Regions from separate parts of the Homo sapiens genome. Here regions 1, 3, 4, 5, 6 and 7 are each linked to region 2. Evidence: promoter capture Hi-C in 16 types of primary human blood cells and fetal thymus (Javierre and others, 2016). All regions are on one chromosome and are shown on one strand. Each heading gives the region's core, a stretch centred on a gene start or on the middle of the fragment in contact. The rest is flanking DNA. Distances are from core to core; before and after follow the strand shown.

Region 1 (3,222 bases), core at 209-2,708, 4.0 Mb after region 2:
TTTCCTAAGCACCGAATTTACACATGAAATGATTTAAGGAACGAAGAGCACTAGGCTTTTTAAGCCAGAAGGATAATAGCCATTATTTTAACCTTATCAATTGGATAAGATCCCGGGGGCGGAAGAGGGGAGAAATCCAAGGAATTGCAGTCATAACAAAGCGTAATCCGTAACATAGATAACTGGAATTGGAAAATTAGCTACTCGTTCCTGGTTCTTCTAGTAGATTGTGATATTACTGAAATAATTTTTATGACCAGCTGCATTTATTGGAGCTATATTTTTTTAATTACTGAATAATTGCACCTCGATATGGGGCAAGGGAAGAATTTTAGGAAATTGATTTACTTTCATTGTAATAAAAATTGTAAGCTAATGATGTGTTGTGAAAAATAATTAAATCAGTAAGTATTTATTGGATATTTACCATATTCAAAGGACTGTCCTAGTCCCTGGGGACAGAAATGCAAAAATGAATAAAGTATTTTTTAAAGTTTTGTTTTTTTAATTAGCAGTTTGAGACATCTAATAAGCATGTGTTAAGATAGATCAAAGGAAGATTCTGGATTTGAGTTGGACGTTTAAAAGACTTAAGAGAGAGGAGGAAGGCATCAATAGTTCAGGAGATAGTGTCCTTGGGTGGTTTGAGGAGATGTTGTGTGAATATTTGGGGGGCAGAAAAGTACATTGTCAACTAGATTGAGTAAATCTTGAATGACAGGAATTCAGATTTTAACCTGAAGGAACTGTAGAGACATCAAATCATTTAATGGTAGTTTTCTCCTGTGAAATAATTTTTTGCTACCAAACAAAATATTTATATATTTGCCAAATGTTTATTGAACACATGTTTTGTGATGGCTAATGAAGATATATTAGTAAACAAATTCCCTGTCCTCATGGAGTTTATAGAGGATGACAAAGGGATTAAGCTTTGTAACTACACAAATAGTGATTCATACAGCATTTCTACATATATTATGTAATTTGTTCATCACATAGCCGTGGGAGGTAGGCTGTTTCCAATACTCTAGATTAATTTTTTTTTTTTTTTTGAGACGGAGTCTCACACTGTCTCCCAGGCTGGAGTGCAGTGGTGCGATCTCGCCTCACTGCAAGCTCCGCCTCCCGGGTTCATGCCATTCTCCTGCCTCAGCCTCCCGAGTAGCTGGGACTACAGGCGCCCGCCACCAAGACCGGCTAATTTTTTTTTTTTTTTTTTGTATTTTTAGTAGAGACGGAGTTTCACTATGTTAGCCAGGATGGTCTAGATCTCCTGACCTGGTGATCTGCCCGCCTCGGCCTCCCAAAATGCTGGGATTACAGGCGTGAGCCACAACACCCGGCCGCTCCAGATTAATTCTTTTATCTTCTAGTCAGCCCTGCCGCCTGCTAAATGTTACAGACCTTAAATAAATATTTCAATCTATCAAGCTATCATACATGTACATTTTCCCTATTTTATATTCGGTTTAATAGGAATGTGGGGAGATGATTAACAAAATAATACAGGTTTGATATAAAATATATAGGAAAGCACAAAGAAGAAAACCACAATCATATGCAAAGTCTGTTGTATTTTATATGTATGACACTGTGCATACTGGTTTTTTATCCCATTTAGCTACATGTTAAGCACACTATCCCTTGACACTGAATATTGTTCTAAAGCATGATTTTATTATTTGTAGCATATACATGCGAGTTTTCCAGACACTATAGAATATCAGTTCTCCTTATTACAAAAATTGATATACTGAATCATTTGTCAAATTATTTTCTATATTACTCAGCAACAGCCTGAAAAGTGCATGTAGTTAATGTTTTTTTAAAATCAAGGACATATCATTTAGAAGGTACATTAAAAGCATTCTGATTTCCAAGAAAAAATATAACAGTGGTAAGAATAGAACACTTTAAAATCCAGCAAGAACAAGGAGAAGTAAAGGGCACCATTCTTGCTGACATAATAATTACCTATCTGGAAGCTTTAAAAAATGTCCAGGTAAGCAGTATTACAATGATTTCATGAGATAAACTTCTCTCTTCAACACTGGTTTTTATTCAGTCATTCCTTTCACTCAAGAAACATTCATGCAACACTTAGTATAGCTGACACTGTGATAAATGCTAGAGATAAAGGAGAAAGATCAATCTTTAATTTCAAGCAACTCACAGCCAAGAAGGGGCTTTTCTATCCCCCTTTGTTACTTTGTTTTTCTCCATTGCACTTATCAGCATGTAATGTAACATAGATTTTGATTTTTTTACTTTTGTAGTCTATCGCCCTAAATTAGACCATAAGCTCCATGAAGTCAGGCACTTTTGCTGGTTCGCTCATTGCTGTATCCCTAGAGCCTAGGACAGGGCCTGACACATGTGGATTCTCAATGCATATTTAATGTCTGGATAAATTAATTTTCACATCCCAGAAAGTGAATGTTATATTCATTTTCCAGGTGAAAAAAATATGAAGCTCAGTGAGATTAATGTACCTAGATTCTTATGCTAATAAATGGCCCATTTCGAAGACAGACCTGACTGGGTCCAAAGCCAGAGTTCTTTCCTCACTACCTCTCACAGAATAGAAAGCCTATTCTATTCTATTCTATTCTATCCTATTCTATTCTATTCTATCCTATCCTATTCTATTCTATTCTATTCTATTCTATTCTATTCTATTCTATTCTATTCTATTCCATTCCATTCCACGCCATGCCACGCCACGCCATGCCACGCCACCCCACCCCACCCCACCCCACCCTACCCTACCCTACCCTACCCTACTCTATTCGAGGTTGTCCTATTTATTTCTCCACATTTCTATGCCCTGAGAAACTGTCCCCCACTGTTATATTCCAGTATATTTAATTCTTCTTTTATGATCAGGTTTAGAGAGGGAAATAGAAGCAGAACGGCTAAACATGATAATCCCTACTCAGGACAGATTTAGCTTTAACTAACCAGTATCTATAAACAAGCAGACAAAAGGTAGAGGTAGGTAGCAAGACCTATAAGAATCTTCGAACCAGGGCTAAGTATAACAGAGAACAGAACTGGCCCATGACTACAGGGGAACAAAATGATTCCCTGTGTATATGAATATCCATGGCACTTTTATTCACAACAGCCTCAAACTGGAAACAGCCCTAAGATCCATCACCTTTGAAAGGATAAAGAGCTGGGCACGGTGGCTCACGCCTGTAATCCCAACACTTTGGG
Region 2 (3,086 bases), core at 467-2,966:
AACACTTCGATATGTGCTTTGAACATTGATATGCCAAGTAGCAATAGAAATAATTATCTCTTTGGATGGAAAATGTTAATGACTAATCATTTCTTAAACTAGACTGGATACTTTTCCATATAGGGACTATGCTATTCCACGTTCTCCAACATGGATCCATCCATTTACTTCTTGCCTTCCAAGGTACCACCCTATCCCAATCCACCATCACTCCTTGCCTGGAGTATTTCAATAGCTTTTTTTTTTTTTTTTTTGAGACAGAGTCTCGCTCTGTCGCCCAGGCTGGAGTGCAGCGGAGCGATCTCGGCTCACTGCAAGCCCCGCCACCCGGGTTCACGCCAGCCTCCTGCCTCAGCCTCCCAAGTAGCTGGACTACAGGCGCCCGCCACCACGCCCAGCTAATTTTTTGTATTTTTAGTAGAGACAGGGTTTCACCGTGTTAGCCAGGATGGTCTCGATCTCCTGGCCTCGTGATCCGCCCGCCTCGGCCTCCCAAAGTGGTGGGATTACAGGAGTGAGCCACCGCCTCCGGCCTTCAATAGCTTAACAGGTCACCAAGCTTCCACACTATTCCCACACAGCCTCTCCCCTCTTGCCACCGGCTGTGACCTCAGACTGAAATGCTCTTCCCTGGCCCCTCCTTATCCTTCAAATCTTGGCTTAAAAGCCTTTTCTCAGTTTCATTGACCAGGCTATCTAACATTTACGATTCCCCCAGCATATCATCCATTTTATTCTTCTTTACGGACTCATTTCTGGCTCGTAGTAAATGTTCAATAACGGTTAAGTGAACTGAATCTCTAATTTCTGGTCGTTAATTTGTAGAGACCACTTTCCCGGATTTAAAAAGTGCAGGTGCTCTGGCAGCCTTAAGTCGGTGAAAACAAGAATATTCCGCAAAACAAAAATAACTTGTTTATTCATCAAAAACAGTTAACGTTACACTTCTATACCGTCAATTCGTGTGTGAACAGAGTTGTGTCTGATCCAAGACCTTACAGTTCAAGCACTGGATCCCAATAACCTGTAAACAACGTTTTGTTATTTGCAATGCAATCCTGGGCTAACTTTTCAAAAGTCGTTTTTCTCAATTTCCCGTTAGTTAAAGGAATAAAAAAATGCTGTCCAACGTGGTCAATGGACCAAACAAACAAGGACAACAAACAGAAGCGTGAGCCATTGCTAACACAACAGCGACCAAACAATCATGCACTGTATCAGGCGTGTAAAAATCTGGGGGGAAAGGCTTAGTCTTAAGGCCTAAGTCATCGGACACTGGTCCTCTCCCGGGGAATAAAACGGCCTCCTCCTCTGAGAGGGAAATGTCCTGAATTTTCCCTGCAGAGGGAAGGTCACCTGCAAGCCTACATTCGTGACAGCGTTCCCGAGGACCCCCTGATCCTCATCTTCTTTTCTGCTTCATCAGACCAGAGACCGTGGCTAAAAGCCCCCCATCTGCCGGCTCTCAGGGGCTTCCGAGGCGGCGGGGCGGGAGGCGGCGCCCAGTCAAGGACAACAGAAGACTACGTCGCGTGGGCCAAAGGAAACAGTCCCGTCAATAAATAAGCCTCTGGCCGACGCACCTCACCCTTCCCATCCATACAAGACCTCACCTTCTCCCCGGAGCCGCGGAGGCTGTTCTGCTAAACTGTCTGGACCACGACGACCCCCTAGGAGGCCGGGTCGCTTATTCAATATGGCGGCCTCGGCTAACTCTGTCAGCCGGGCCTGGAGAACGGAAAGCCCGGAGGGACTAGAATCCTTGCATTCGACAAGTTTGTCGGCAATTTCCGTCAGCCGACCAGAGGGCGGAGCTGAGGTCGGCCCAGCCCGGAGGCGGGAAGGACAACTTGGACCCGCAGTTCCGCCGGAAGTGGCCCCAGCCTCGAGGCCGGGCGTCTTCGGTCATCTCCGGCGCTTCTAGGGCTGGTTCCCGTCATCTTCGGGAGCCGTGGAGGTACGAACTTAAGACATGCCTATTTTATTAATTTACTTCCAAACGCAACGAAAGGTCCATGGACAATTTGTGGGCCATTTAATTCAGGGCCCCCAATTCGTACGTGGAGAAGTGGGAATGCAAAAGTACTTTGACCTTTAACCTTCGGTCCGGCGCGGTGGAGGGAAACGCCTCCGTCTCTATATAAGGAATTTTCCGGTCTCTTCGGGTCCTTTTTCCTCTCTTCAGCGTGGGGCGCCCACAATTTGCGCGCTCTCTTTCTGCTGCTCCCCAGCTCTCGGATACAGCCGACACCATGGGTTTCGGAGACCTGAAAAGCCCTGCCGGCCTCCAGGTGCTCAACGATTACCTGGCGGACAAGAGCTACATCGAGGGGTGAGCGGACGGGCTGAGTCGGGGTGGCGGGGAGGTTTCTCCGCCCGGGGCCGGGGCCACGTGGCGCAGCGTGTCGGCTGCCGCGGGAGGGAGGGAGGCCGGGCCCGGGGCCCTTTCGAGAGGGAGGGGAAAGCGCCCCGTTGCCGTCTCCCAAGGCCCTCGTGTGGGGCGAGCCCGGCCTCCGGGGAGCGGTTCACGAGCAAGGAAAGGTTAAAATGTGCTTTATTTACACTTAATTCAGCCAGGTGTTTCCGCATCGCTGCCCAGTTAATACATGTTAAGCTGTAGATAGAGCAACGCCAGACATTGCAGTATTTGAGGTCTACTTAGTGGCAGACATTTCTCAGGATAGCGCGGTGACCCAAACATATGGTTTGATTTGAAGGAGCTAATAAGAAAAGAAAAGCATTAAAGCAACCCTGCTGGGGTTAGTGCCCACTAATTAATGTGATGCATACGGTATTTATTATTTATTCGCTGGCGTTTGTTTTTCAAAGGTGTGTGTGAATGTTTCTGTGTCCTTGGCAGGTATGTGCCATCACAAGCAGATGTGGCAGTATTTGAAGCCGTGTCCAGCCCACCGCCTGCCGACTTGTGTCATGCCCTACGTTGGTATAATCACATCAAGTCTTACGAAAAGGAAAAGGCCAGGTAAAATCATCTTTGTATAGAGCTGAAGAATAAGACTGCTCTCGAAGTTTATCAGGATGTTCACATGACAAAACTGGACCCAGGCTACTTTAGTTTTGTTGGG
Region 3 (2,841 bases), core at 205-2,704, 3.9 Mb before region 2:
AAGTCCTGGCCTCAAGTGATCCCAAAGTGGTGGGATTACAGGCGTAAGCCACCCTACTCAGCCATTAAGAAGTGTTTCACTCAAATTCCAAAAACAATCATTTTTTCATTAATCAATGGAGGACCCAGCAATTGAAGTCTTGTGTGTATTTAATGTCCACCGATTTTAACCTTGTTATTACTCAATTTCACTATTTTAACACCAGACAATAACCTTCTGAGAGCTGCCTCAGAAAACACATCACTCTAAAATAACTTGATTCAAATTAAGGTTGTCTTCTTAGGACAGTGGTTTAGTCTCATGCTGATATTAAACAGTACAGGATTTGGAGATTCTTGTTCTCACTTATAAACCTCTTAAGATTAAGGGTTCAGCTTTATAACTCTTTTAAGTCTTTAGCACTCAACACTGAACTTGTACTGGGTCTTCTTTGTTTTGAGTCAGGGTCTCTATCGCCCAGGCTGAAGTACAGTGGCATGATCTTGGCTTGCTGCAACCTCGACCTCGCAGGCTCAGGTGATCCTCCCATATCAACCTCCTGAGTAGCTGGGACTACAGGTACAGGCCATCATGCCTGGCTAATTTTATTTTTTGTAGAGACGACGTCTCTCTATATTGCCCAGGCTGGTCTCAAACTGGGCTCAAGCAATCCTCCCCCACTTAGGCCTCCCAAAGTGCCAGGATTACAGGTGTGAGGCGCTGCACCCGGCCAATGTACTGAGTCTTTTTTTTTTTTTTAAACGGAGTCTCACTCTGTCGCCCAGGCTGGAGTGCAGTGGAGTGATCTCCAGTTACTGCAACCTCCGCCTCCCGGGTTTAAGCAGTTCTCCTGCCTCAGCCTTCTGAGTAGCTGGGATTACAGGTGCGCACCACCACGCCTGGCTATTTTTTGTATTTTTAGTAGAGACGGGGTTTCACCATGTTAGTCAGGCTGGTCTAGAACTCCTGACCTCGTGATCCACCCAACTTGACCTCCCAAAGTGCTGGGATTACAGGCTTAAGCCACTGCACCCGGCGAGTCCTAATGATGTTGGTCAATCAGCCTACAGCAACAGTTCTCAAACTTTTTGTTCTCAGGAATCTTACACTTAAATTTATTTAGAATCCCATAAAGCTTTTGTTAGGTTGGTTACATCTATTGATGTTTACAGTATTAAACACTGAAAACTGAGAAATGTCTTAAATATTAATTCATTTTAAAATACCAACAAACCTGTTATATGTTAACAAATATATATTTTTATTAAAAATATTTTTCAAAACAAAATTAATGAAAGAGTGGGACTGTTACACATTTTTGCAAATCTCTTTAATGTCTGGCTTAATAAAAACAGCTAAACAGCTGGATTTTCACATCTGCTTCCACATTTAATTTGTTTTATCACAAGTCATGTTAGTTTCTAGAAACGTCCATTGAACACTCATGAAAGAATGACAGTGAAAAAGACAAATAATGTCCTAGTATGAACATGAAATAAAAGAATCTATTTGTATCCTAGGTCCTTCATTTCTTTATGTATCTCTTAAATAACCTGACTTCAAAATGGAGCAATAAATTCTACATTTTATAATTATTTCTTTATGTTGCTCTTCCATCAGTCTACAATAAATTTCAAAATGCTTCCTAGACGCTTCTGGGAAACAAAATAAAAGGCTGACGAAACTAAGCATTTACGCCTATACTTTTCTTCCTAGTAACCAAGTAAACAACTACCTAGGGAAACACAATGCCCACTTGGGAATTAATCTAGATTATTAGTAAGTAGATCCATCCAAAATTCATCTAGATTATGGTTAAGCTTTAAAATGTTAAGTGTACATTTTGTACAATAGTACCAATCTGCAAAAACCTCACTTGCTCTCACGAAATGGTACAAAACTGGGTTAAAAGCCAAGGGAATAGGTGTGTTAAATTTAAAAGTTCAAGTACATCGTGGAGTTGAATGAAAAATAGTTTTCTGAATAACTACCATTAAATGAGTAAAAGTCCAAAAATAATGTAAAAAGTCAAAGTCGGCTGGGCGCGGTGGCTCACGCCCGTAATCCCAGCACTTTGGGAGGCCGAGGTGGGCGGATCACGAGGTAAGGAGATCGAGACCAGCCTGGCCAATATGGTGAAACCCCGTCTCTACTAAAAATACAAAAATTAGCTAGGTGTGGTGGTGAGTGCCTGGTGGTGAGTGCCTGTAATCCCAGCTACTCGGGAGGCTGAGGCCCGAAAATTGCTTGAACCCAGGAGGCGGGAGGGTGCAGTGAGTGGAGATCGCACCACTGCACTCCAGCCTGGCGACACAGCGAGACTCCGTCTCAAAAAAAAAAAAAAGTCAAAGTCGTCTGAGCAAACAAAAGACCAGACAAAAACTTTATGAATTAAAAACTAGCCATAAAGTTGTTTAATTAGAACAGGATGAGGAAGAAAAGGGGAAATCGATCACTCCTGATTAAGTGCAAATCCCAAGTAAATTATTGATACTAACAGTGAGCTGGAGCACTTTGCCTTACCAGGCAACTTTCTGCAAATATTCTGCAACGACTCTACATACACAAAGTTTTCCTATGCTTTTCCTCAAAAATATGAGACTTCCTCAGGTTAATGCCCAGGTGAGATGCTTTTTGTTGCTCTAGCAGTTTAGTTCTATTTTCTTTCTTGGTTATTATGAATGCTCTCTTACAACTGGAGAGCTAGGATGAACCAATCCCGAGTAAGAAACGGGAAAGTACAGTAAAGAGGCGACAGCTCTGCACCCCCACACGGAAAAAGACTCAGAGGAGAGCAGCGGCATCCTTGCCCTAGCTCCAATCCGAACGGAGGCAGGATTCCCAACAACATCGGACGTCTCC
Region 4 (2,828 bases), core at 67-2,566, 4.3 Mb after region 2:
CAATTCTTCCCACTGAAATTACATCTGCAAATTAACTATGTAATATTGAAAATCAATTTTTCTCCTCACAAGTATAGCAGCCATCCAAATGTCAGGCATGAATTACATGAATATGCTTACCATGCCCTAAATTCAGGGCACTATTAAAAACCCAGAAGATACCATGGTTGGTTGGGTTGAGGGCACAGCACTCTCCCAGAAGCAATTACTCATATGCAGATGCAGGAAGCATTTAAGGGTGTACCATTCAGACAGACAGCTCTCGGAAAAATGCTCTGGCTCTTAAGCACAATGCTTATGCCAGCTCACAGTCAGCACTTCATACCTGCCCAGCCAGTGTAACCGGTGCCATCCCGAGGGTCTGCTGATTTCAGGCCTCTCTCCATTTGCTGAAGAAGCTCCCGAATCTTATTGGTCAAGCGTTGTGAGAACTCAGGAGTCAGCTAGATATTAAAGGAAAACAAGTATCAAAATAATGTGGGTCACCCAGCTTGCTGGACTATAAGCTATCAAAGACAGAAAGGTATTTCTTTTCCACTTAGGACATATTTTTCCACCTGGAAGACTAAACAATTTATTTTCTATTCTTAAACAACAACATCACATTAACAAAATTTATAAAATACCGTTGTAACTTATACATGTTTTAAATAAAATTTTTAGTTAAATACTAAAACAGACTGCCAATGATAAACTGGCTCACAGTAATTTTCCACCTAATAGTAATCGTCTATTATTTAAACCAATATTATAATAAAGTCTTTTTATTAAATTAAGCACAAATCAGATGTTTGGTGCTTTCAAACTACTGGATTTTTAGTATTCAAGCTGCAGCAAGGTAAATTCCCTAAAGAAACATCTAATTGCTCTTATTTAAAAAAAAGGATTTAAAAAAAATGAAGTAGCCAAAGAAAAGCAAAACAAATTCATGTATATCAAGAGCCTTAAGCAGAATAGAAAGAATATCAAACTTAGCATCATAAACCCACGTCCAGCACAGTGTCTGGCAGAGAATACGGGCTTCACAAATGTTTCTCAATGAATGAGCCTGTCTACATCCTTACCCGCTATTAGCTGATCTTGCTCAACTCATAACTTCTTTATGTTTCAAATACCTCCATAAAGTCAGGATAATAATAACTGCCACGCCAATTTCAAAAGGTACTTTGGGGATTAAATGAGATAGTGTATCACAAGTCTTTCTCATTCAGGGATGTAAATGTTGACATTTTTACTAATTCTTTAGCAGATCAAGGGTCTAAGGCAAGTAATAGTTTAGATATGGATTGAAAATACACTAAGGCTGGGGCTGTGGGGTTAGTACCACCCATATGAAGGTCCACAGATGCTGTGCAAACAGTGAGGCTCACACAATCATTACGTTATTCTTCTTAAAGGCAAATGAAAAATAATTTTAAACTTCTGCACACACTGAATCAGTGTCTTAAAAAGTCACTGAAGGCCGGGCACAGTGGCTAATGCCTGTAATCCTAGCATTTTGGGAGGCCGAGGTGGGCGGATAACCTGAGGTTAGGAGTTCGAGACCAGTCTGACCAACATGGAGAAACCCCATCTCTACTAAAAATACAAAATTAGTCGGGCATGGTGGTGAACGCCTGTAATCCCAGCTATTCGGAAGCCTGAGGCAGGAGAATTCCTTGAACCTGGGAGATGGAGGTTGTGGTGAGCCGAGATCGTGCCACTGCACTCCAGCCTGGGCAACAAGAGCGAAACTCCATCTCAAACAACAACAACAACAACAACAAAAACCCAAAAAACTCACTTTATTGTCTCCCTCAATAATTTTAAGAACTTGCTGTGATTCTAAGACTTGAATTTCACATAGTAATTAAAATTTCAGAACAATGTGGGGGAAAGTTACAAGGGTATAAACATTTTATTTTACCATGTAAGGATTGTAGAAATAAACCTAACCACTCACATCAGAATCTCATTTTTAAAAATGAGATAAAATCTTAACACTGAAAACAGCAAGAAGGCAGTATCAGAATTAACAACAACAACAATAGTTTAAGGATACGTTAAGATTCACTTCGGAGGAGCATCCTTGATAAGGCAAATCAGACTTTCAACCACATCTGGATTATTTAATCTAAAGCACCACTATGATCCCTTATTTCACTCTTTAGAAGAAACGACGTTGTTTGACAGACACACTCCCATTATTTAACAATTTCTGCAAAGAGGTTAAGATTTCAACTAGACTTGAAAATACATTTAGTAGGATAAAATATACTTCAATGTTAATACAAAAGGCCTATAAATCTCAGCTAGATAGAAGAGTGCATCTATATTGAGAACACGTCATCTACTGTATATAGATCATATATAATTTATCATCTTGCCTGGCCTTCAAGAGATCAAGAATAATGAGAATCTCTCAGCCTTATGAAGGGAAGTTACTTTCTGTTTGGCACATTCTGCATTTAATAAAGGTGACCTCTGTGAGAATATTGATTGCTTGTGGTACACCACCAAATCATTCAAACTCTAGCTATAATCTGAAGTCTCTAAAAGTCCTTTTTTCTTTTCTATTTTTTTCTGACAGATGCCAGAAAACAGACCAGTTCCTTACTGAAATCTTGTGTTAAGAAATTAAGGAGGACAGATCTCCAGGGTTTGATCCTCCGTGTTCAACATTACACAATTTTAGAACTGGTATGCTACTTCCTTTCTAGGACCTGTCCAAAAACTACGTTAGGCAATAAACTACATTATTACTCTTGGGTCAGGGTTTAAATTTGTGAATTTTTCCCCTTAGAAACAAAGGGTTAAATTTGGCCCGACATGGTGGCTCACACCTGTAA
Region 5 (3,095 bases), core at 433-2,932, 3.8 Mb after region 2:
AATTATGTTAGTCAATGTTCTTGGCATATATAAAGGACTAATAATTGGGAGATGAACTAGCTAAAGGGAATGTCAGAAGAAAATACTTATAGTTAAATATGCAGAAATAAATTTATCAGCTATAAATGTAAGGAACAACCATAAGAATCCACAGAAACATATAAATAAAGAAACAATTTCCTCCTAGGCAGTTAGACCCTCTTGCAAGTTTTATTCTGCCTATTCTCTTTAGCTAAGACGTCCTCTACTATCACGTCAGAAAACTCAGACTGAACCCAGAAATCGCCAAGGGGCTCGGCTGTCAACCACTCGCAGGAGCATTCAACCTAAAACGAAGCCGTCTGGTGAGGCCTCCTGTGTCCCTTCTGACTATACCATTGACATGATGCCATGCAACTCACCCAGGAAGGCTTACAAAAACCAAGCTGATGGAGATAAGCACACCTTTGGGGAGGTGCTAACATAAGGGAAGGAGTTTCCCAGAAAACTGTAGTGTCTTTTTTTTCTTCTTGCCTTCCCCAGTCCCTGTCTGTACCCCCATGAACCTATAAAAAATGGAAGAGCCCAAGGTAAACCACTAATACTGGGAAATTTGACTATAAAAGGATGTGGCTTCTTTACTGAAGCCAAGGACTGGGTTTGCTGTATGTCTCACTGAAGGTAAAGCTATGATGAATAATAGGGACTTTTAAGTCCTGTTGGCAGTTGTTATGAGGAATGATCAACTTCAATTAATATTCTATACAAATGTTATTTTAGGCCATTTACGTGAAAATGATTTTTCTACGTAAGTCTTACTCTTTGTAAGAAGATAAAATCAAACATGCGCAAAATGTTCAAACGTGCTCTCATTTATTAATAAACCAGCAATGTTTTTATTTTAAAAAATCCCCAGGAGACACTGGTTAATACCAACTATTAAGCATTGACGGTCCGTTTCCACCAACTCCTCCCCAATTTACTGTTTCACCTCTACCTGCAGCGGATCAGAAACGATCTGTGACCTTCATTGAGGCTCAGCCAGAGCCAGCAGCTGCCCCAACAGATGCGCTTCCTGCAACAGGCCAACTACAGGGCTGTAGCCCAGCCCCTTCTAGGAAACCAGAAGCAATGGACGAACCAGTCCTCACATCTTCTCCCGCCATAGTTGTTGCGGATCTCCACAGCGTGTCTCCCAAGCAGGTGAGGGCACTAGAGAAACAGGCAAGGCTTGCTCCCTGTGTACTTACTTCTAGCAGCCACTTGGATATGCACATTTATTCCATATAATTAAGTCCAGGTCTGCAATGCTTTGTTATCCAAACAGATACTGCTCCTGCCATCATGAAAGAGAAAAATCTATATAAAGTATAGCCAGGCATATATCTGCTTAAGAAGGACCAAGAAAAGCCTTGCTATTTTTACCTATGAAAAACCTAAGAGGAAATACTTTGCAGCTAAAACAGCTCTTTAAAACAGGTTTATACAGGTTGAGCATCCCTAATACAAAAATCTGAAACTTTTTTTCAGAAAAATTTGAAACTTTGTAAGTGCTGATGTAATATTCAAAGTTCATGCTCAAAGAAAATGCTTATTGGAGCATTTTGGATTTCAGATTTTTGGATTAAGGATGCTCAACCAGGTAAGTATATAATGCAAATATTCCAAAATCAGAATCCAAAGCACTTGTGTTTCCAAGCATTCAGATAAAGGATAGCTGAAAGATAGTTCAATTTAAAAAAATTAAGTTACCAGTTTAGATAAAGCCTCTAAATATAGAACCTCTATGTCCTATAAGATGAAAGGAACTTTTTGTTTTCATCTTTTTCCTCATTGTTTTGCTATTTTTCCTGTTGATATTTTTCTTGTTTTGGTATATTTTTTCTTTTCATTTTTATAAATGAATTCTTAGAGTGTCAGATTCTTCTCATGTGGTATTTAAGGAAAACTAAAGGGCAATGTTACTGTATACATTTGTATAGTCTTTAATGGTTAAAAAACATTTTAACACTAAGCATTATTATCTCATTTGATCCTCACAGTCTACAAGATAAGCAAGACAAAAAATTGTGTTCATGTTACATGTTCAAAAACTGAGGGTTAGAAAGTTGGAAAGGCCTACGTAAGGTCCTACCTATAACAAAGGCTGGAACTGGGACTAGCCATCTGATTCCTTTTCCAATTACCACTAGACAACAACATTTTTTGATGTTCTTCTCTGGTACCCATCCTATCTTTCCATAATGTTATGATCCTTTTGATCACAGAGTGAGAACTTCCCCACTGAAGAAGGAGAAAAGGAGGAGGACACAGAAGCACAAGGTGCTACTGCACACAGTCCACTCTCTGCCCAACTCTCTGACCCTGATGACTTCACAGGCCTCGAGACATCCAGCCTCCTACAGCATGGAGACACTGTCCTTCATATCAGTGAGGAAAATGGCATGGAGAACCCGCTACTATCTAGTCAGTTCACCTTTACTCCCACTGAGCTGGGGAAAACGGATGCAGTATTAGATGAGTCTCATGTTTAATTCTGTATCTTGTAAGCTCTGCAGGTATAGAGAAGACATGAAAGTGATCTCTCTACTACAAGTTCAATACTTTTGCTTGAAAAAGATTAATTACAAAATAGCACTTTACTTCTAATGGGTGGCACAAATCTGAATAGGTTTTGCTGCCAATACACATGATGTTTCATAAACATCTTAAAAGTCAATGGCTAAAAGGATTTAGTTGTGTGAAAATCACAAAACCAGGGAGGAATAAGGGGAAAGAGCCATTTCACTGCACATTGTTTATGATTCAAGAAGCCTTCAGCAGTTAAAAATATATACTATTCATTGCTGCTTTCATAGAAATATTAACAAATGATATGATCTAAAAATAGAATGCAATTTTTTGAGATTACTCACATTATACATCTCATGCAAATATTTATTTTTATAGTTTAAAAAATATCAATTCAGGTTGGCTATACAAGTAGCAATTTACATAAAAAAATAATTAATAGGAAAAATATTACTTTGGGGAGACTAAATAACAAGCCTGCAGCCATTTTTGTTTTGAGTAACAATACAGCCATTTAGAAGAAGAAAAAAATACTATATAGAGAG
Region 6 (3,216 bases), core at 663-3,162, 4.7 Mb before region 2:
AGCATGGTAAAACCCCATCTCTACAAAAACATACAAAAATTAGGAGGCATGGTGGCACGTGCCTGTAGTCCTGGCTACTTGGGAGCCTGAGGCAGGAGAATCGCTTGAACCCGGGAAGCAGAGGTTGCAGTGAGCCGAGATCGTACCACTGCACTCCAGCCTGGGTGACAGAGTGAGACTCTGTCTCAAAAAAATAAATAATAAAATAAAAATAAAAAATAATAATAATACTTAAAAAATCCAAAGGTTCTCATAGTAACGACAATAAAACCACACCTCTCATCACAGTCTGTGAGGTCTGGCCTAGTCTGGCCCCTGCCTGCTTCTCCTCCCTCATCTTGTACCACTCTCCTCCTTGCTCATACTCAGTCACAGAGACACAGACCTTTTGTTACTTCTTTTAATTCTTCATCACTCTCTTAACTCTGGGCCTTTGTAACTGTTGTTCACTGTACCTGGAATACTCTTTCTCTCTTGTTCTCTATATGCTAACTCCTTCTCACATTTAAGTCTCATTTTAAAACTTACCAGTCTACTTGATCTAAAGTAGCCTCCTCTGCCCACCTTTGTTCTCTAACTCGGCATCTAATTTGTTTCTTTCACACTATAATTTCACATAAATTGTAATAATATATTTGTAATAATATACAAAATTATAATATATGTGTGAAAGAAACAAATTAGATGCCAAGTTAGAGAACAAAGGTAGGCAGAGGAGGCTACTTTACTTTTTCTTGAAAGGAAAGAGAGGGTGCCATTTTCTCTCTCCTCCTTGCTGATCAGAAGAGGAATATAATATGCCAGAAGCTCAAGCAACTCCATAAATAATTGGTGTTGAAATGAACTATTAGCTAAACTGGTGGGGGAATTCTTTCACCATTAACATGCACAATTCATCAACTCCATTGTTACACAATAGAGTATAACACTCTTAAATTAGACTCTATTTAATCATTCCTTCCTTTTTTGTGACTTGTCAAAAAGCTTTCTAAAAAGAAAGAACTCAAAGTTTGGCAAACACTGACAAATAAATATAGATAAGCTCCAAGGACCTCAAGGATCTTTACAAAATGAATTCGTTCCACTGCTATACCACCAGCAGACTTTGTACGCTCATTTTCTAGCATGAATAAACCACAATACGGGGTAGTTAAACAGGGTATCTTCAAGAGGTTATGTGAGTCAGTAGTAAAGCTAAGAATAAAGCTAGAACATCACTTATATATAAATATTAAGCAGCCAGTTGAAAAAGAAAATTTCAATACAATGACCTCAATTAACAACTGGTCAAACAGCTGTTCATTGAACAGCTTTCAACAAATGCCACTTGAATTAAACCAAAAGTACTAAAAAAAGATAAATAGTAGTATACAACAGCCTCTGCCCAAAGGGAGGTTAAAGATTTAAGAAGTCTAAGCTCCAAAAGGGACAGCTCTAATGATCTGGATTAGATCTAATATCCAATGAGCTAAGAAATCTAAGAAAATAAGATAGTACCAGATAATAAATATTTGATGAGTGTTACAACAGAATTGTCGGGAGAGAGCTCTTTTCTAGCTGAGGTGGTCTGGCTTCACACAGGATGTAAGATTTAAGTGGACTCCCTAAGGAGGAAAAGATTTGGATAGGTGAGGAGACTATCTGGTAGGAGAAAATAATAATGATAATATCCAACAGCAAGTAGCAGACAGAGCCAGGTTGGCAGCATATACAGACCAATTTGAGTGGGAAGAATTATGGGGAAGGTATTTGGAGATTTAAATTTGACTAGTTCAGATTAAGAAGTCTGAACTTGATCCTGCAGGGAACACATTTCTAAATAGAAGTGACATTTGAGAGAAATAAATGTAAATGCAGGATGCAGGATAAATTTTGGAATGGAGAGATTAGAGACAAAAATAATTAGAAAATTTTATCACATTTACGCATGGATTATTTTAATAAAGGTATAAACTAGGTGAATGGAAATTTTAAGAAGGATTTACGGGTTTGTGAGATAGTGAAAACAGGACCTGTTAACTGATGAGTTGGGGATAGATGAACTTTTTCCTCTCCTAAAAGATAACTACATCTGGCATATGCCTCAATTACTCAGGCTTGAAACCTTACAACTTCTCTTGCCCCTCACTCCCCGAGAATTCTCTTCCCCAGACATTTCCCCTCCCTGCAAACTAGCTTCTCCATCTTCCCCAACCACACAACATATTCCAGCCAAAAGAAAGAACTGCATTTACTAGCTTCCTAGACACACCAGGAAATTCTCAGTCCTGTAACTCTGTCCATGCTATTTCTTCTAATTTTAATGTCCTCTCCCCATTCTACATATCCAAATTCTAGCCATGCTTCCCACACCAGCTCAATGCCACTTTTCCCAACAGGCCTTCCCAGAAACCCCAACTTGAAGGAGGTATTGCCTCCGAACACTTTCTGCTCTTCTCTAAAACAGTTTTTAAAACCTTAGAGCTGTTCCTTATCTCCTCTGATAAACTGCATGCCTCTTACAGCAAACATACTTATTTTTGTATTACTCTGCCCTCTTTTCACAAATAAAGAGCTAGATAAATATCATATAGCAACAGCACAGTGTAAAGCCAAGAACACAGACTCTAAAGACAGACTGAGTTTGAATCTTAACTCTGCTGCCTGTTAGCTATGTGATCTTGGACAAGCTACTTAATCTCTCTGTGCTTCAGTATGTTTACGTTTAAAATGAATAGTAGGTATTTCAAAAGGTTGTCAAAGAATTTGGCTTAAATCTGTGTCAGCACCATAAAAGTGTCTATTAAATACATAAGATCACTTTTTAGAGTGGAAAAATCTGAATATTCTGATAGTTGTATAAAGCTTTATGATCTATACAAGGAAAAGCAAAATGTCAAAATAAAGACAGCCTCTGGGTACAAACAGCTATATACAAATTCTTTCCCTATCTTCTTATGTACACCCTAAGGGTTAGCTGTGCCCTTTATAATGTTATATTAACAGTGGCTCTGTTTTAGTTAGACATTTCAATATTCTGGGAAAACTGTTAGTTCAGCATCCTGTGGCACTAGCTACCTTGGTTACCTTGTCTCCGGTCTTATTACCTTTCATTTATCCTTTACAAGTCTTAGTCTTTCTAAAATGCAAATCTAATGCTTTTCCACTGCTACAAACCACCTCCATCCCATCTTCCTTAGGATAAAGTTTAAGCCCCTTGGCATCTCATGTAAAATC
Region 7 (3,261 bases), core at 472-2,971, 3.9 Mb after region 2:
ATTGATACATGAATGTATTCTAGGACCTAGATTACATGTTGTGTTGTATATGTAACGCTAACATTCTTAACTGTTCAGTTTTCATATTGAGTAGAAATAAATGTCTAAGAAATACAGTGATGGGAAAAGTCTGTTCCTGTTATTGTCTAAATCAGTGATCCTCAAGTATGTTGTATAAGGACCCACACAAATCCTTAAGACCCTTTCGGGTCATCCATGAGAGTATATCAAAACTATTTTCATAATCCTAAGAAATTATTTGCCATTATTTCTACTGATGGTACAAAAACATTGATGAGTTAGTTTGCTGGTGCCTTAACCAACTCAAGGCAGGGACTGTATCAGGAGTTATTCTTCATCATCATGCATTTGCAATAAATATCCTTGATGAAGCAGTAGAAATTAATAAATCTTGGTCCCTGAATACATGCCTTTTTAATATTTTGTGTGGCAAAGTAGGAAGTGCATATAAAGTGCTTGTGCTGCATTGCTGCATACTGGAACATAATGGTTTTCTCAAGGAAAACCACTTGCACCATAGAGGTGTGATCTGAACTAGCTGCTTTCCTCCAGAACACTATGTTTGTTTGAAAGAACAACTGACAGATCAACTATGGTTTTTCAGACCTGGCTATTTTAATGACATTTAAAAAATATTAACTAAATGAGGCTGTCTCTTCAAGGAAAGATACCTTGTCAGTTTTTGTTCCCAAAATTAGAATTTTAAAAAACTTGTGTATCTTACCACTCTGGGTTTGATAGCGTCCCAACAGTTAACAAGCTTTTCTGATGAGATCTGTAGTTATTTTACCAAATGTGATTTTGGGGTACTATGGAATGAAATCTGTCACTATTTGTAAGATGTGTGTAACTCAGTAAATCAGTACTTAAAAGACCCATTCAAAATACAAGACAAACAATGGGTTTTAATGTAACAAAGAATGAAAAGCTCATTGATAGGGTTTACAGAGTGCACACTGCAGCTAACCTTTATAAAATTACCACCCAGCACATTTAAGATAGGCTAGGCTAAGCTATGATGTTTGGTGTGTTAGGTATATTAAATGCAGTTAGAGATAACAGTATTTTCAATTTAGATTGAGTTAATTGGGATGTAACCCCATTGTAAGTTACAGAACATCTGTATTACAACAGATTAGATACAGAACAGATGTGAGAATATAGGTGTCTTCTGTTAAGCCAGACACTGAAAACTTGCAAAAATGTAAAACAAATAATACCACTCTTAATTAATAGGTAATAGAGTTATCCTTTTTTTTTTTTTTTTTGAGACAGTCTTGCTCTGTCACCCAGGCTAGAGTGCAGTGGTGGCCTTCATACCTCACTGAAGCCTCAGTCTTGATGGGCTCCAGCAGTCCTCCCACCTCACCTCTCCCCTCCAGTAGCTGGGACTGCAGGGGCACACTACCATGCCTAGCTAATTATTCTGTTGTTGTTGAGAAGGAGTCTTACTATGTTGCCCAGGATGGTCTCAAACTGGGCTCAAGCCATCCTCCCTCCTCAGCCTCCTAAGATTATAGGTGTGAGCCACCAAACCCGCCAAAAATTACATGCTTTAAAATGTCTTAGTTTGAATTTCTCATACATTAAATATCTATAAATATAATCCATATCAACAGAAGTTTCTTGGGGTCTTTAATAATTTTTAAGAGTGTAAACTCCTGGGCTCAAGCAATCCACTTGCCTTGGCCTCCCAAAGTGCCAGGATTACAGGCTTGAGCCACCGCACCTAGCCATATATAGTGTTTTTTTAATGTAACTTAGAATTTAATAGACCTTAGATTCTTTTTAATCAGCATATTGTTGACCAAGTTTATGAATAATAGATTATGATTATAATAGATGATAGAATGATTGGGAATTGCTGATCTAATGTTAACTATGCACAGATTTGCTGAACCATTGACTCCCTGAACACCATAGAACTTCTCCATTGAGGGTTGCTAGTGGTTACTGGATGCTAGAGGTTGAGTAAGGATGACATAGCTAGCAGTCTGGTAACTTAAGGAATGAATAGAGTAGGTTTTTTTGTTTTTTGTTTTTTTTTTGAGATGGAGTCTCGCTCTGTCGCCCAGGCTGGAGTGCAGTGGAGCGATCTCGGCTGACTGCAAGCTCCGCCTCCTGGATTCACGCTGTTCTGCCTCAGCCTCTCGAGTAGCTGGGATTACAGGCGCCCGCCACCACGCCCAGCTAATTTTTTTGTATTTTTAGTAGAGATGGGGTTTCACCGTGTTAGCCAGGATGGTCTCGATCTCCTGACCTCGTGATCCACCCGCCTTGGCCTCCCAAAGTGCTGGGGTTACAGGCGTGAGCCACCGCGCCCGGCCTGGAGTAGGTATTTTAAACCGGCTTGAATTTTCCTTGTTTATGATGCAAAGAATAAGAAACACCAGATTTAATACATTTTTTTAAGAATAAAGTTTTACCTATTAAAATATGTTCTAATTTAGGCCGGGTGTGGTGGCCCATACCTATAATCCCTGCACTTCGGGAAGCCAGCGTCAGAGGATCACTTGTGGCCAGAAGTTCGAGACCAGCCTGGGAAACAGTGAGAACTCATCTCTATTAAAAAAAAAAAAGTTCTCATACAATTACTTTTGCTGGATTAGAAATACAAACGTTAATCTTGACTTTATTAGTCAAGCTTTATACTTTCTTTTTCTGACTTTTTTTTTTCAAGGCTTTATTGTATTTCATAATTGTTCTGAAATGTTAGAATTTTTTTCTTAAATATAGCTTGGCTGTTTCAGAAATGTGCTTCCTCTAGCAAAATAAAAAACTTAAAACCTCTCCTCACTACCATCTATCAAACACAGGATTCTTCACAGTGTTATTTCTTGGTTTAGCTTGTTTTAAGCTGCCCTCTCCTTCTTATGAAATGCTATTATGTTTTAAATCAAGATCTTTAAGAAGGCCATGCCCATTTTCACCTTATGTGTTTATATGAATCAAGCTTTAGAATTAGGATGAATATCAGGTTTCTTGCAGTCAACATGTCCTTCCCCCTAAATTTGTTCTTGCAGTCTTGCCTCTCAATTAATGGCAGTTCCGTTCTTCTAGTTGATAAGGTCAAAATCCTTGATGCCATCTTTATTTTCCTCTCATCTATCTATCCATGGAGGATCCTCTTATCCTCCACATCTCATCTATCCTCAGCTCTCTTTGCTCTTATTTAAGAACATATCCATCCCGAATTGCTGCCATCATTTTTCACCTGGGTTATTGCTATCGTAGCTTCCT

What was found. Contacts are between HindIII fragments. The CHiCAGO score rates a contact against its expected background, and 5 or more counts as called.
Region 1: a fragment that was not itself captured here is called in contact with the fragment with the promoter of NDUFS1 in region 2 in 1 of 17 cell types (monocytes); the score reaches 6.7 in monocytes.
Region 3: a contact is called between a fragment that was not itself captured here and the fragment with the promoter of NDUFS1 in region 2, in 3 of 17 cell types (total CD8 T cells, monocytes and naive CD8 T cells). The highest score is 11.1, in total CD8 T cells.
Region 4: a fragment that was not itself captured here is called in contact with the fragment with the promoter of NDUFS1 in region 2 in 1 of 17 cell types (monocytes); the score reaches 5.2 in monocytes.
Region 5: a fragment that was not itself captured here is called in contact with the fragment with the promoter of NDUFS1 in region 2 in 2 of 17 cell types (neutrophils and total B cells); the score reaches 9.3 in neutrophils.
Region 6: a contact is called between a fragment that was not itself captured here and the fragment with the promoter of NDUFS1 in region 2, in 1 of 17 cell types (total CD8 T cells). The highest score is 5.8, in total CD8 T cells.
Region 7: a contact is called between a fragment that was not itself captured here and the fragment with the promoter of NDUFS1 in region 2, in 1 of 17 cell types (M2 macrophages). The highest score is 6.8, in M2 macrophages.

What each region holds. Positions count from the first base shown.
Region 1 is chr2:210,172,278-210,175,499 of GRCh38, forward strand. It overlaps a transcript of KANSL1L not described here. Among named protein-coding and RNA genes, the nearest start is that of KANSL1L, 2.5 kb to the left of the region's middle. RefSeq lists an enhancer at 1-61. The HindIII fragment of the contact is 1,056 bases long and covers 931-1,986 here.
Region 2 is chr2:206,157,728-206,160,813 of GRCh38, forward strand. NDUFS1 (NADH:ubiquinone oxidoreductase core subunit S1) reads right to left here and starts at 1,717. Exons shown (of 19, transcript NM_005006.7): 1 at 1,614-1,717. It overlaps EEF1B2 (eukaryotic translation elongation factor 1 beta 2), which reads left to right and starts at 2,168. Exons shown (of 6, transcript NM_001959.4): 1 at 2,168-2,332; 2 at 2,861-2,983. The coding sequence starts at 2,253. RefSeq lists enhancers at 1,395-1,804, 1,915-2,174 and a silencer at 2,435-2,504. The HindIII fragment of the contact is 3,079 bases long and covers 558-3,086 here.
Region 3 is chr2:202,235,091-202,237,931 of GRCh38, forward strand. All of the region lies in intron 1 of SUMO1 (small ubiquitin like modifier 1), which reads right to left. Among named protein-coding and RNA genes, the nearest start is that of SUMO1, 2.1 kb to the right of the region's middle. The HindIII fragment of the contact is 685 bases long and covers 1,113-1,797 here.
Region 4 is chr2:210,471,634-210,474,461 of GRCh38, forward strand. It overlaps LANCL1 (LanC like glutathione S-transferase 1), which reads right to left. Exons shown (of 10, transcript NM_006055.3): 3 at 326-443. Among named protein-coding and RNA genes, the nearest start is that of LANCL1, 3.7 kb to the right of the region's middle. The HindIII fragment of the contact is 4,098 bases long and covers 1-2,828 here.
Region 5 is chr2:209,993,083-209,996,177 of GRCh38, forward strand. It overlaps UNC80 (unc-80 subunit of NALCN channel complex), which reads left to right. Exons shown (of 65, transcript NM_001371986.1): 63 at 233-344; 64 at 983-1,182; 65 at 2,247-3,095. The coding sequence ends at 2,513. Among named protein-coding and RNA genes, the nearest start is that of RPE, 8.0 kb to the right of the region's middle. The HindIII fragment of the contact is 8,415 bases long and covers 1-3,095 here.
Region 6 is chr2:201,444,014-201,447,229 of GRCh38, forward strand. The region is part of intron 1 of TRAK2 (trafficking kinesin protein 2); the gene reads right to left. Among named protein-coding and RNA genes, the nearest start is that of TRAK2, 5.8 kb to the right of the region's middle. The HindIII fragment of the contact is 1,860 bases long and covers 983-2,842 here.
Region 7 is chr2:210,012,041-210,015,301 of GRCh38, forward strand. All of the region lies in intron 2 of RPE (ribulose-5-phosphate-3-epimerase), which reads left to right. Among named protein-coding and RNA genes, the nearest start is that of RPE, 11 kb to the left of the region's middle. The HindIII fragment of the contact is 1,884 bases long and covers 780-2,663 here.